Linked DNA regions of Homo sapiens: region 2 is linked to region 1. Evidence: promoter capture Hi-C in human tissues and cell types (Jung and others, 2019). All regions are on one chromosome and are shown on one strand. The core of a region is centred on a gene start or on the middle of the fragment in contact, and the rest is flanking DNA. Distances in the headings are between cores, read along the strand shown. Region 1 holds the start of INPP5K (inositol polyphosphate-5-phosphatase K). Region 2 overlaps GLOD4 (glyoxalase domain containing 4).

What was found. The method cuts DNA at HindIII sites, captures the fragments that hold promoters and counts their contacts. A contact is called where the count stands out against the background at its distance.
Region 2: a fragment that was not itself captured here is called in contact with the fragment with the promoter of INPP5K in region 1 in 1 of the 25 tissues and cell types used here (dorsolateral prefrontal cortex).

Annotation. Positions count from the first base shown.
Region 1 is chr17:1,512,913-1,519,515 of GRCh38, forward strand. INPP5K (inositol polyphosphate-5-phosphatase K) reads right to left here and starts at 3,700. Exons shown (of 12, transcript NM_016532.4): 1 at 3,544-3,700; 2 at 960-1,067; 3 at 541-649. The coding sequence starts at 3,587. PITPNA (phosphatidylinositol transfer protein alpha) reads right to left here. Exons shown (of 12, transcript NM_006224.4): 12 at 4,806-6,603. PITPNA-AS1 (PITPNA antisense RNA 1) reads left to right here and starts at 4,007. Exons shown (of 2, transcript NR_028514.1): 1 at 4,007-4,181; 2 at 4,806-5,184. RefSeq lists a silencer at 3,786-4,085. The HindIII fragment of the contact is 13,245 bases long and covers 1-6,603 here.
Region 2 is chr17:771,329-777,931 of GRCh38, forward strand. GLOD4 (glyoxalase domain containing 4) reads right to left here. Exons shown (of 9, transcript NM_016080.4): 3 at 5,540-5,660; 4 at 4,447-4,591; 5 at 1-133. Among named protein-coding and RNA genes, the nearest start is that of GLOD4, 7.6 kb to the right of the region's middle. The HindIII fragment of the contact is 5,864 bases long and covers 906-6,603 here.

The sequences.
Region 1 (6,603 bases), core at 2,450-4,949:
GAACTTGGGTTATGAAGTTTGAGAGATCTGGATCCAAATCCCAGATAGCGCATGTGGCTTCTGAGCCATGGTTTTCTCTGTAAAATATCTCTATTTCAACAGACTTGTTAAGATTTTAAAATAACATATATACTATAAAGAGCTACTTATGATGTGTAACAACAAGTAAGCACTTGATAAATGACAGCCGTATGATTACACTCAGAGACTTCAGGATGGGCATTTGAGTAGAGACTGGTGGCTGGGGCAGCGGCCAGCACTGAGGTGATGACAAGCCCTGCTGCACCTCCCCTCAGAATCTTCCCAAGCTGAAACATATCCAGGTGTTAACCCAACCCCTGGAGACTCCAGCTCCCTCAGAAAGGCGAAGGCAGGCAGGGGCCCCGGGGTCCAGGTGGAAGGGAGGTTTAGCCCTTTAAACAAATGGGAAACAGCATGAAAGGCTGAGCAGGAGTAAGAGGAACACATCAGACCCAACAAGCAGGGGTCAGTGGAGATGTGAAAACACAGTTGTCAAGTGCCAATGAACTGGCAAGTTACCTTGATGAAGCTCAGAGGGGAAAGCACATCCATGAGGAAACTGCTCCACGAGTCATTAAAGGCAGCATCGGAAAGGAGGCTTATGATCCCAGAGTTCAATTCCTGCAAACTGACCATGCCAGCTCAGAGGCTTGGCCCCTGGCCTCCAGGCTACTTCCCCTGCCACAGATATTTGATACCATCTTCACGGACTTTCAAGGCCTGAGTTCTGATGGCCATGAGGTCTCCCTCCCCTGCCTGCTGATCTCCAGCCCCCTTTGCCGTTGCTGACCCGGGACCAGAGACATGGGACTGTCCCTGAAGCAGGCTGAAAGCTCCCAGCCTTCAGACTCCAGAGCGGAGGAGGGCAGGTCACAGTGCTTCCCACAGGGAAACCTGGGACTGGTCAGGGATGGGCGAAGGAGCCTGCAGATACCTACCCAATAACATATATGTCAAGATTGAGGTTCCGGTTGTTCAGCTGAAGCAGGTCACTGAGATCTAGAGGGGGCGCTGCCGAAGCCACGTTCCAAGTCACGACGTGTATGCTGCGGAAGGGATGCAGAGGGAAGTCATGGAGGAAGGAGGATAAGATAGTGCACGGGGTCGGCTGGGCGCAGAGGCTCACACGTTGTCATCACAGCACTTTGGGCGGCCGAGGTGGGCGGATCACCTGAGGTCGGGAGTTCGAGACAAGCCTGGCCAACATGGTGAAACCCCGTCTCTACTAAAAGTACAAAAATTAGCCCAGCATGGTGGCAGGCGCCTGTAATCCCAGCTACTCTGGAGGCTGAGGCAGGAGAATTGCTTGAACCCACGAGGCAGAGGTTGCAGTGAGCCGACATTGTGCCACTGCACTCCAGCCTGGGTGACAGAGTGAGACTCTGTCTCAAAAGAAAAAAAAAAAAGATAGTGCACGGGGTCTAGGCCTGCTTATGTCACTGCAATCTGCCACACTCATGATGGGAAATGTGGGTTTCTGTGCTGGTGGAGGGAATGGGGATACTGAACCATCAGCTGTCCGTCCTCACCTTTCTCTGCTGAAGCAAGAAATCCCCACCCCGGACTGGGTCCTCCATGCTGGCTCACAGCCACCCACACCCGGCAGCACTGGTGCTGCTGATATAGCAGAGTCGCCAAAGGGAGCCCAAGAATTTCAGGTCAGGCTAGCGAAGGGTTAGGGGGCTGAACTGCCAGGAATGTATTAATTCCATCAGCTCCTCCAGCCACCCACACCCCTCTGTCATCATCTATGGCTCAGTCGGCAACTTCTGATCCCTACTTCTCACCCCAAGTGTTCCTAAGACCACCAGGAAGATCCTAGGGATTCAGATTTCACCTTGTGATAGGCCTCAGCACTACAAGGGCAGAGGAATTTAAAAAATAAAAGAGATAACACCACCATATTCCCTTCCTCTCTCCTCCCTAGCAGATCCCTGGAGCAAGCCAATTTTGCCAAGCACTTCAGCGAGACTTTTTTTTTTTTTTTTTTTGAGACTGAGTCTCACTCTGTTGCCCAGGCTGGAGTGGACTGGGATGATCTCGGCTCATCGCAGCCTCCGCCTCCCAGGTTCCAGCAGTTCTCCTGCCTCAACCTCCCAAGTAGCTGGGATTACAGGTGTGTGCCACCACATCTGGCTAACTTTTGTATTTTTAGTAGAGACGGGGTTTCACCATGTTGGCCAGGCTGGTCCTGAACTCCTGATCTCTCAGGTGATCCGCCCGCCTCAGCCTCCCAAAGTGCTGGGATTACAGGCCTGAGCCACCGCGCCCGGCCAAGGAGTTTTTAAGTAACAGGTTTCTCGACATCTCTCTTAAGAGTCTATGCTCTATGTCTGCGTAGTATTCCGTGAAAAATAAAGAGTACTCTCTGGGGAAAAGTCATCAGTTGGATATTTTCCACCTCAGCTTACAAGTCTTAGGGAAGCAAGAAAACTAGATAAGGGGCCTCAATGACACTGGATCCAGTCAGAGGCTCAGGAAAGAGAGACCTACAGATGTCTTTAGTGGAACAGTCAGTCACAGCAGCTCTTCAAGAAGCCTCAGACTGTGCGGAGCACAGAGCGGGCAGGAGCTACAGACCCTGCAGAGACCAGGAACAGCCTAGCATGAGTCCTAGGCACACGATGAGGAGTACCTGCAGCAGCTGGAGATCTGGAATGGCAGAGGGTACAGGGGGATGGGAGAAAAGGGCAGTTAATGCCAAAACATCTCTCCTCCAACAGACCCCGTCCTTAGAGGTCGACGTTCTCAAAAGCACTTCAAGAAATTCTTGGCCAGTTTAAAGCAACTTCCTGTCCCTCCCTGTTAGCATAAACAACACTATACAGAAACCACCTTCCCAGGCACTCGGCCTGAGATTTTGAGCTTCATTTGTTTACGATCTCCCCCTGCTGTCCGACAGAGGCTTAAGGAACAAAGACCTTTTACTCAGAGACTTCTTTTCCCAGACTCACTCTAAGAGGATGGAGAGCAAAAGTCCGGATTTCTTGTTCCCACTCTCAAATCCGACGATTAGCAGCAAATCCAAGCATCGTGACTTAGACTAAGTGGGCGATTAGCGTTGTTCCCCGTGAAAGAGCAGGCAAGAGACCAGGCTAAGTCACTTCCCTAAAGGATCTTATCTCAATCTGATTTCGGATTCCCGGGGTTCACCATGGGATCAGGCAGACCTCCTGATGTATGTGCTGATGAAAAGTAGGAAAAAGATTTCTAACCGAGAGCCGAAGGGTGACGGCCTCGTTATGTCTTTAACCTCAAACAACCCCACACGGCTGTCCTCTCCAGAAAGCAACCGGGACACCTGCTGCGCCCCAGTGGGAACGAGCTTGGCGGCCTCGGCTTAGAGGGGGCGCGAGGCTCGGGCCCAACACAGCCCACCTGACACAGGCGTGGGAGAAGGCGAGAGCGCCTCTGAACCAAAGGCAGTCATGGAGGTCTGGTGCCTTGTCCACCCCCAGCCCGCAGCCCAAGGGGCGCCGATCCCCCCGAGCAGGCCTGCCTCTGCCGCCAGGGTGCCCTCACCTGAGCCTCCTGCCTTTCGGCCCGCTCAGCTTCCGCGAGCTCATGGCCGCCGTCGTCCCCGCGCGGTGGTCCGGCAGGTTCGCGTCTCCCGGCCAGCGGGTCCCGGCCAGAGCAGCCCTGCGGGCGGCCGGTCTCACGCGCCTAGCTGTCGCGGACTGTTTTTCTTCCGGACTCCGACCGTCCGCCCCGGCTTCCGTCAGAGACGCGCCCTCCGCGCACCCCGGGATCTGGGTGGTGCGGTTCGCAGAAGGAGGCGGGACTCTCCCACGAGCGCAAAGCTGCGAGAGGCTGAGCGAAGACGGGTTCGCGGACGTAAGAGGGGCGTGTCGGGCCTGTCATCAGCGCACGCGCAACACTGCCCCAGACGACGCGAGGTGTGCGGCCGCCACTAGACCCGGCCCAGCCCGCGCCCGCCGTCCGCAGCTCCCAGCGTGCCCCGCGCCAGGGGCCGTCTTCCGGCGGAAGTTGTCTCTTCGCCGCCGCCGCAGCCTCTGCCCCACTCGTGAGGGATCCGAGGGCTCCGTCCTTGTGCTGTCTTCGCCCCGGCTCCCAGGGGTCAAACGAGGGTCGGGGGTGGGGACACGCAGCCTAGCCACTGTCCTGCCTGGGATCCGGTCTCCCCCGCCCCCCGGCTGCAGGTAATCTCCCCATTCCTGCTACTGCGGGAGCGCCTCCGTTCTCCACGCCCACTTTCAGGCTTCTACTCCAAACTTATTGGATTACCTATTGCATATGGGACGTTTGGGGATTCCTGGACTCCTACAGAATTAGCCGTCAATAAATGAAACGTAGGCCGGGGCGCGGTGGCTCAATGCCTGTAATCCCAGCACTTTGGGAGGCCGAGGCGGGCGGCTCACTTGAGGTCAGGAGTTTAAGACCAGCCTGGCCTTAACATGGTGAAACCCCGTCTCTGCTAAAAACACAAAAGCTAGCTGGGCTTGATAGCGCGCGCCTGTTAATCCCAGCTACTCGGGAGGCTGAGGCAGGAGAATCGCCTGAACCCGGGAGGTGGAGGTTGCAGTGAGCCGAGATTGCGCCACTGCACCCCAGCCTGCGCGACAGAGCGAGACTTCGTTTCAAAAAAAAAAAATAATAATAATAATTAGCCGAGATGGGGTTTCGCCATGTTGGTCAGGCTGGTCTCGAACTCCTGACCTCAGCTGATCCACCCGCCTCGGCCTCCCAGAGTGCTGCGATTTCAGGTGTGAGCCACCGCGCCCGGCCTAAAACTACTTTAAATAAATGTTTTGCTTGTTTGGTAGGGTGGATAAAGAGGAAGATGTGAAGAGGAGGCAGACAAAAGCAAAAGGACATCCTGTCAGTAGGAAACGGCCGAATTACAATTCAGATGTGCAATGTTTGCATAAGTAAACTGACACGGGACTATTATATGCAGAAATCCACGTGCAAAAATTTTCAGACACACCTTTGTACCTCTTCCTAATCCTGCCCTGGTAAAATGGCGGTTATCAGTGCAAGTTTGAGGATACATACAGCTGGAAAATGGACATCACCAAACTGGACTCCAGAAAGTTCTGTCTAGGATTTTATTAGACTGCTTTTTTTCTCAATATACCTGTATTGGAAGATTGAGACAAAAAGGCACAAACTCACATTAAATAAACAAGGTAATCTAATCAATTCTACAAAGTGTAGTTTGTAAAACAAGTAGCACTAGGAACCAACCAAAGTAAGTCAGGGAGTCCCAGCAGGGACTGTAAAAGAACTTGGGAAGCTATACACATGCCCACGATACTGACCCTGTCCCGGACCTCTCTGCATGAGAAGGCCAGAGCCCAGCACCCCTCCTACAGAGGCACTGCTGCTTCTGTTGGGGCTGTGACCCTGGAATTCTGATGGAAGCAGCTGGTCTGAAGGGGCATGGCACACACTCAGGTACTACCCCTGGAGCTGAACCTTTATCATAAGTCCCTCTGAGTGCTAGTCAGTTTGGAGGTGGGTGAGGAGGAAAGGGGGTACTTAAAAGAAGCCAACACTGTTGCCCAGCAGCAACACCATCCGTGGGGATGGAACAGACCAGGGACATCCTCCTTTATGTTTATGTGGGCTGCAATTCCAGATCCAGGCTGACCTCAGCTCATAATGGATGCTTTTCAACTGGGGCAACAGGTGGAGGTGGGAGGAGCCCTTGTTAGGGCTAAAGTGATATGTGTGGGTCTCAAGAGCCAAAGGAAGGAGACTAACAGCTGCTGACCCTCAGACCACATAGACAACTGTCTGCCTAGAATGTCAGTTTGTTTCTTTCAAGATAACCCGCATCTGGACTTCCCCTAGTTGATGAATGAAGGAACATCTTTAAGCACAAATATAATGAATAGCTAACACAGAGCTTATAGGAAAACACTGACATTTTTCTCCAGTAGGAATGCCTCTTCTCCAACTTTCCAAGTCAGATAAATGCTACCAGCAGTTGAGATGCTACCCAGATGCATTACTAAAGACCCCTCAAGGTGAGGAGACTTACACAGAGGAAGGTGTCTGTAACAAGACATCTGGTTCCAAAGGGACCTCAATGAAGGTCAGCGCTAACCATGCTGGGGGTCTGAGTCTGTCCACCCTTGCCCCAGGAGGGCCACAGGGAAGCATCCATCAGGATGTCACAGGTGCAATCCTGTGAGACACTCCCTTATTGCACTTAGAAATGAGTAAGGCAAACAAACTGACAAAAACAGGATACATTCTCCCACCCACTTCTTGCTTCCCGGACAAAGATTTGGTCTCCCATTAGCAGATGCACCCAGGCTAGTGTGGGCTGGGATCACGGCACACTTAGGCCAACGTGCTTCACAAGGTTTGGGGAATGTCAGGTGACACTACAGCTCTCTCTCATTCTCCCACTAAGAGGCAAACTCAGGCTCTGTCAAGTTGCAGGAAGCTATGAACACTGGGCAGCGTCTGTTCCCCTGGAGCCTGGACTTCCTCACCAGCCTACTTTGGTCGGGTTCTGTACTATGATCACTACTTGCTTTGGGTTTTCCAGGGCAGAACTCAACATGGGGGTAGGACGAGCTAAGTTCTTGATCCCCAAATTCCTTTCCG
Region 2 (6,603 bases), core at 2,588-5,087, 740 kb before region 1:
TTATCAGCATAGCCCAGCAAAGCCCTTTGCTTTTCTTCATCTTTTTCATAAATTTTCATTCCCAGTAGATTACACCAGTAGTTCAAGGACTTTTGAAGATCAGACACTGCTAGAGTTACTTTTAATACAGGATCTGTTGGGTAATAAAGCAGGAATAGACAGATCAATTTAATAGAATAAAATAGAAAGACCAAAACATGCGCATGTATACTTACAAATTCAGTTTATGATAAGAAAGGGATTTTAAGCCAGTATGAAGCTGGGTGCAGCGGCCCATGCCTGTAATGCCAGCACTTTGGGAGACTGAGGTAGGAGGATTGCGTGAGCCTAGGAATTCAAGACCAATGCAGGTAAAACACTGAGACCTTGCCTGTATGAAAACTTTAAAAAAATTGGCTGGGTGTGGTGGCTGATGCCTGTAATCCCAGCACTTTGGGAGGCCAAGGCAAGTGGATTACCTGAGGTCAGGAGTTTGAGACCAGCCTGGCCAACATGGCAAAACCCTGTCTCTACTAAAAATAAAAAATAAAAAAAATTAGCTGGGCGTGGTGGCGCACGCCTGTAATCCCAGCTACTCGGGAGGCTGAGACAGGAGAATTGCTTGAACCTGGGAGGCGGAGGTTGCAGTGAGCCGAGATGGCGCCGTTGCACTCTAGCCTGGGAGACAAGAGCAAAACTCTGTCTCAAAAAAAAAAAAAAAAAAAAAAAAGATTAGACAGGCGTGGTGGCTCATGTGTGTATTCCCAGCCACTTCAGAGATGGAAGCAGGAGGATCGCTTGAGCCCGGGAGGTTGAGGCTGCAGTGAGCCAAGACTGCACTACTGCACTCCAGCCTGGGTGACAGTGAGACCCTATCTCGAAAAAAAAAAAAAAAAAAAAAACAAAGACAGTATGAAAAGCCTCATTATTCAATGGACGGCGCTAAGAAGACTGGCTAATCATTTGGTAAGAAAAACTTACATCTTCGAAATAAATGACAAAATACATTCCTGATGGGTTAAAAAAATAAGTTTAGAGAATGAAACCATGAAAATACTAGATACAGATGATTATTTATACAATTTTGGAGTAGAGGAAGATTTTTCTTTAAACCTGACACCAAAGATAGAAAAACTATGAAGAAAAAACTTCTGCTACATAAATTACACAAAATGGAAAACTCCTAGACAACAACCAAGAAAAGGAATTACAATCAAAACTAGAGTATACAACACAGTAGGGGGAACAACTGCAATATATTGGACAAAAAGTCCTTAATATGTAAATCACCTGTAAATATCAATAGGAAAAGAATGAACATGCTAGAAAAATAGGCAAAAGGCACAAAGCAATAATCCACAAAACAAGGAATTAGAATGGTCAAATAACATACGAAAAAATATTCAGGCCGGGCGCGGTGGCTCACGCCTGTAATCCCAGCACTTTGGGAGGCTGAGGTGGCAGGATCATGAGGTCAGGAGATAGAGACCATCCTGGCTAACACGGTGAAACCCCGTCTCTACTAAAAATACAAAAAATTAGCCGGGCGTGCTGGCGGGCGCCTGTGGTCCCAGCTACTCAGGAGGCTGAGGCAGGAGAATGGCGTGAACCCGGGAGGCGGAGCTTGCAGTGAGCCCAGAGCGCGCCACTGCACTCTAGCCTGGGCGACAGAGCGAGACTCTGTCTCAAAAAAAAAAAAAAAATTTCAACCCGACGCCCCCAAACAACAAAGAAATTAGAATTCACATAAAATCCTTTGTTAACTAATGTGCAAATAATGTTAAAAGTTGGCAGTGTTAACTGTGTTAGTGTAGAGGGGAAAATCACAATCATGTAATACAAGTGTAAATCAGTACATTTCTGGGCAATAGTTTGATGGAATGTACCAAAAGCTTTAAAAAGTGCTCATTGCTTTTGAAAGAACAAGTCCATTTTCAGCCACTCCAAAGGTAATTGTGGATGTATGAAGGGCTTTTACGACAAAGACATTCACCAGTGTTGCTTAGAACAATAAAACACTAGGAACGACATAAATATCCAACAATAGAGAATTGTTTCTCTTCCTACAATGTAATAATACGATGGAACTCCTAAAAAAGGATATACAGAAATGTATACACTTAATTATATATACGTATTTTTGACAAAAGATTGGAAAGATATACTCTAAAATGTCAGCAGTGGTTCTCTCTGGGTACATGGGTGTGTGTGTTTTTTTTCAGCTTCTCTGCTTGTCTAAGGAAAAAACTTGATTATTTTGTAAAAAGAATAAAAGTCATATTGAAACACCTACTGTTACTGGAAACTTTTCACATTGTAAAGTGACTTTCTAAAGAGCTGTTCCACGTCTCCATCTGACTACGATAAATTCAGTACATTTTTCTTTGGCTTTACTGCCTTAGTCCTGTTTGCTAGAACAGCAATATTGGGATTAAGACGCTGTTTCTCACAAGTGCCTCCGCCTGGCAGGCTCCATTTTTTTCTTTCCATTTACTTCAAAATCAACAAATCCCAGTTGACTTGGAGCCTGAAGGGACGCAGGACAGGAAGTTAACGCGTGGGTGAAGCTGCACAGAAGTGGGTAATTCAAAGGAAAGATGAATGCCAGCCGGACAGAAGGTCTGACCACATTGTCAACCAGAAATGCCCAAGGGGATTTCCATTCCAAAGAACAAAAGCTTCTTAGCACCATGGGGCTCTCTATTATTTTAAGCACTGAAATATCACTAAGGCTGGAGAGAAAAAATGGATGGTGGAGCTAGCTGCAAGCGTTAAGTTTTAAAGTCAGCAAAGGATCAATCACCTATCAACAAAAAAACACCATCAACACCCTTTAAATCACCAGTGAGGCAGAGAAACACCATCTCTCCACGAGTCCCACACAGCCAAGTCTAGCCTCCCACACTGGAACAGACGGATCTTTCTTTTGCTGAGCACCGGATGATAAACAAGGAGCACTGAACATTCTACAGACTCAGCATGGGGGCATCGGGGACAGGAGGCCGACCAGTGAAGAAGGAGAATTTCCAGGACTCCCTTCTCAGGCCCACTTGCAGGCATACGTTCACCAAGTAAGGGAGTCGGCACAAGTGCCCTTGCCATTCGCCAGCATTTTCCCCGTTTTTGCTTTTGTTTTGTCAGAGCAGGTAGCTGAATTTGCAGGCATTAAATACAAAATGAAACACTGATGAGGCTGCCTCTGCAGTCAACAAAACAAACCCTGCAAAGTTTCCTTCTTGTTCTGTGTGGCAGTCAGCGTGGGGGCTCCTCACTTCCATGCCATCCCTGAGTACCCACGCTCAAGTCTGGGAAACTGACCTCGGCTCCAGAGGAGGCATGGCTAAATGGTTTGGGGGTGATCCTATTTCTCTTGCCAGTGATTGGTTTAGGAGCAGGCACAGTATATCAAATCTGAACAGGAAGTTTGCTGGAAGATTCTAGGAAAGTTTTTCTTCTGCTCCTAAAAAGAAAGCAAAAAGGGCCGGGCACGGTGGTTCACGCCTGTCACCCCAGCACTTTGGGAGGCTGAGGCAGGCGGATCAAGTGAGGTCAGAAGTTCAAGACCAGCCTGGACAATATAGTGAAACCCTGTCTCTACTAAAAATACAAAAATGAGCTGGGCGTGGTGGCATGTGCCTGTAATCTCAGCTACTGGAGAGGCTGAGGCAGGAGAATCACTTGAACCTGGGAGGCGGAGGTTGCAAGTGAGCCGAGATTGCAGCACTGCACTCTAGCCTGGGCGACAGAGCAAGACTCCGTCTCAAAAAACAAATAATTTTTAAAAGTTAATAAAAATACTAAAAAAAAAAAAAAAAAAGCTGAGCGTGGTGGCAGGCGCCTATAATCCCAGCTACTTGGGAGGCTGAGGAAGGAGAATTGCTTGAACCCGGGAGGCAGAGGTTGCAGTGAGCAGAGATCATGCCAGTACACTCCAGCCGGACTGACAGAGTCTCAAAAAAAAAAAGCAAAAAGAAGTCAGCATCTCCTCTCCTACCAGATGGGATTGTGGGAGCATGTGGCCCCACCTGCTCCTGGCAGCTCTCCTGCAACCTTGAGGGGACTAGTTCTAGGAGAGGTACCCGCAGAGAACAACAGAACGTAGAAAGAGAAAATGTGGGGAGCTGGTGAATCATCTAACCTTGAAATCTTTCCCACCTATAGAATGCCTGCTCTGTGAGCTAAAAGATTCTATAACTGTTCAAAGTAGTTGGGTTTTCTGTTATTTACAGATGAAAGAATCATAAATCACTACATTACCAGTAGAACAGAACTAGTCTAGATCCCCTACTGCTATGTATTTAAGTTCTGATATGAGAATGTAGTCTCTCCGATAACAGGTAAAAGCACTGGCTGGGGAAGACACGTCACGTGAACACAGACTCTACAAAAAAAAGACAGGCAGCCCTCACTCTCCTTTCACCAAAGATGCCTTTAGACAGAGGCTTTTACTGGTTCTGGTATAATTACCTGACTGAGGCAGACTGCGATTCTGCAAATAGAACTTATATCCTCCCGGGGCCTCGGTTTCAAAAACACCTTCTGCAACTTCCGTCAGTGGCCACTCCAGCTTCCTGGCGTTGCTGACAGCCTGGCTAGAAGCGAGCGTGATTCCCTACAACAAACAACAGTACATCCAAGTACATGATCACAACAGATATTTTACAGAACAAGACAATGAGCCCAACCCCTATTGCCTACTGCCTTTAGGTAAAATCACCTAAGATTTAACTGGCATCCAACATTTTCTTCTAGTGATTTAAAAACAGGTTTTCAATGTTTTATCCCACAAACATTCAGACCTTTGTGAATAATAGGACAGAAATTGAAATGCCAGTGAAGTCTGATTCATTTAACACCAAAGATAACGTCTTCTAATTCTAAAGATCTAGCCACAGAAATCTTGATGTTACCTGGGTCTGCCAGCTAGCTACCTATTTAAGGTGACCTGTTCTTGCTTTTTTAACAAACAAAACAAAAATAAGCAAACTATCAAGGTTTCCTTACATTTAATCAAAGTGCCTAGAAATGTACACGTGTGCTTTGAGAAGACCAGCCTTGTTTCTGGCTCGGTTTATTATAATGGCCTCTCTGCCTCCAGTCTTGTAAATCCATTACCCACTCTGCAGCCAAAGTAAACTTTCCAAAACGCATCCTATAGTCCACCCCCAGACTGCAGCCAGCCTTGTTTTCCCTTTGCTCAAAGTCCGCCAATGGCTCATTTCACTCGGTGACTTACGGCCTAGGAGGCCCCCTGCAGTCTTACCCCATGGCACTGCCGACCCCATCTCTTACCACGCTCCCCTCTCGTTCTCTATTCCAGCCACACTGGCTTCCTTACACCTCCTCGAACACGCCAGATGTTACCTGACGGCTCTTGCCAGAATATTCTCTGCCTGGAACGCGCATCCCCCAGATATCCACGTGGCTAACTCCCTGACCTCTTTTGAGTCTCTGCTCAAATGTTATCTCTTCACTCACACACACCCTTGGCACTCTACTCAAATTTACAACCAGCCACCTACCCCCAGCCAAAACTCTGCTAGAAAAAAACGGTATTTACCATAAAGTCATTGCCAAGCTTGTAGTCTCCGACGCCATAATTGTAAGTCAGTTCTGCGACAAAATGATCATCCTCAGGCCCAAATCCCACCATTGTTTTACTCCATTTCCCATCATAAGGCCTAGAAAATAAAAGTAAATGAACTCAGTGACTACAGACAAGTCAGCCTCAGGCCACCCCCAGAGAACTACTGGGCACAGAGAGATGAGCATTCCTGTCTGGTCCTAAAAGTTCTCTTAAGGATGAGATGACCTCAGATGGTACAGAAAGCAGCTGTGGGCAGTGCTCATGGGACCCTACTACAAGCTCCAAAGACTATCCAGCATCTACCTGAAGGAAAGATTTGTTCACCTTTTCTGTAAAGCAAGGAACAGAATCCTAAAGACAGTTCTCCAACTGACCTGTTATTTCCTTGACTATCAATCAACAAGCATGAAATTCCTAATAGGCCTTGGACTGTTCCAACTTGTCACGGTACTAAGCTTAAGAGATGGACGGGCGTGGTGGCTCAGGCCTGTAATCCCAGCACTTTGGGAGGCCGAGGCGGGAGGATCACCTGAGGTCAGGAGTTCGAGACCAGCCTGGCCAACATGGTGAAACCCCGTCTCTACTAAAAATACAAAAATTAGCTGGGCATGGTGGCACATGCCCATAGTCCCACGTACTAGGGAGGCTGAGGGAGGAGAATTGCTTGAACTCAGAAGACAGAGGTTGCAGTGAGCCAGGATAATGACCCCGCACTCCCACCTGGGTGACAAAGTGAGATTCTGTCTCAAAAAAAAAAAGATACTGGAAAGCCGCTGCTTCATCTAGAGCATGTACTTATTTGCATTTGTGGCATAATATGAAACATATCTGGTCATTGTCCCTGGTTCCTGTCTCAGAGCTCCCAAAACCTCTGGAATTTCCTGATAGGAATATCTTTTGTTATATTCATAATGAGCCCCTTTCAGTCACACCTGAGTTTATGCTAATGAAGTGACTTAGAGTGGGGCCTCTACATAGACTCAGGATGGGGCTGGTCACCAGAAAGACAAATGATTAGAGGACTGAACTTTCAGTCC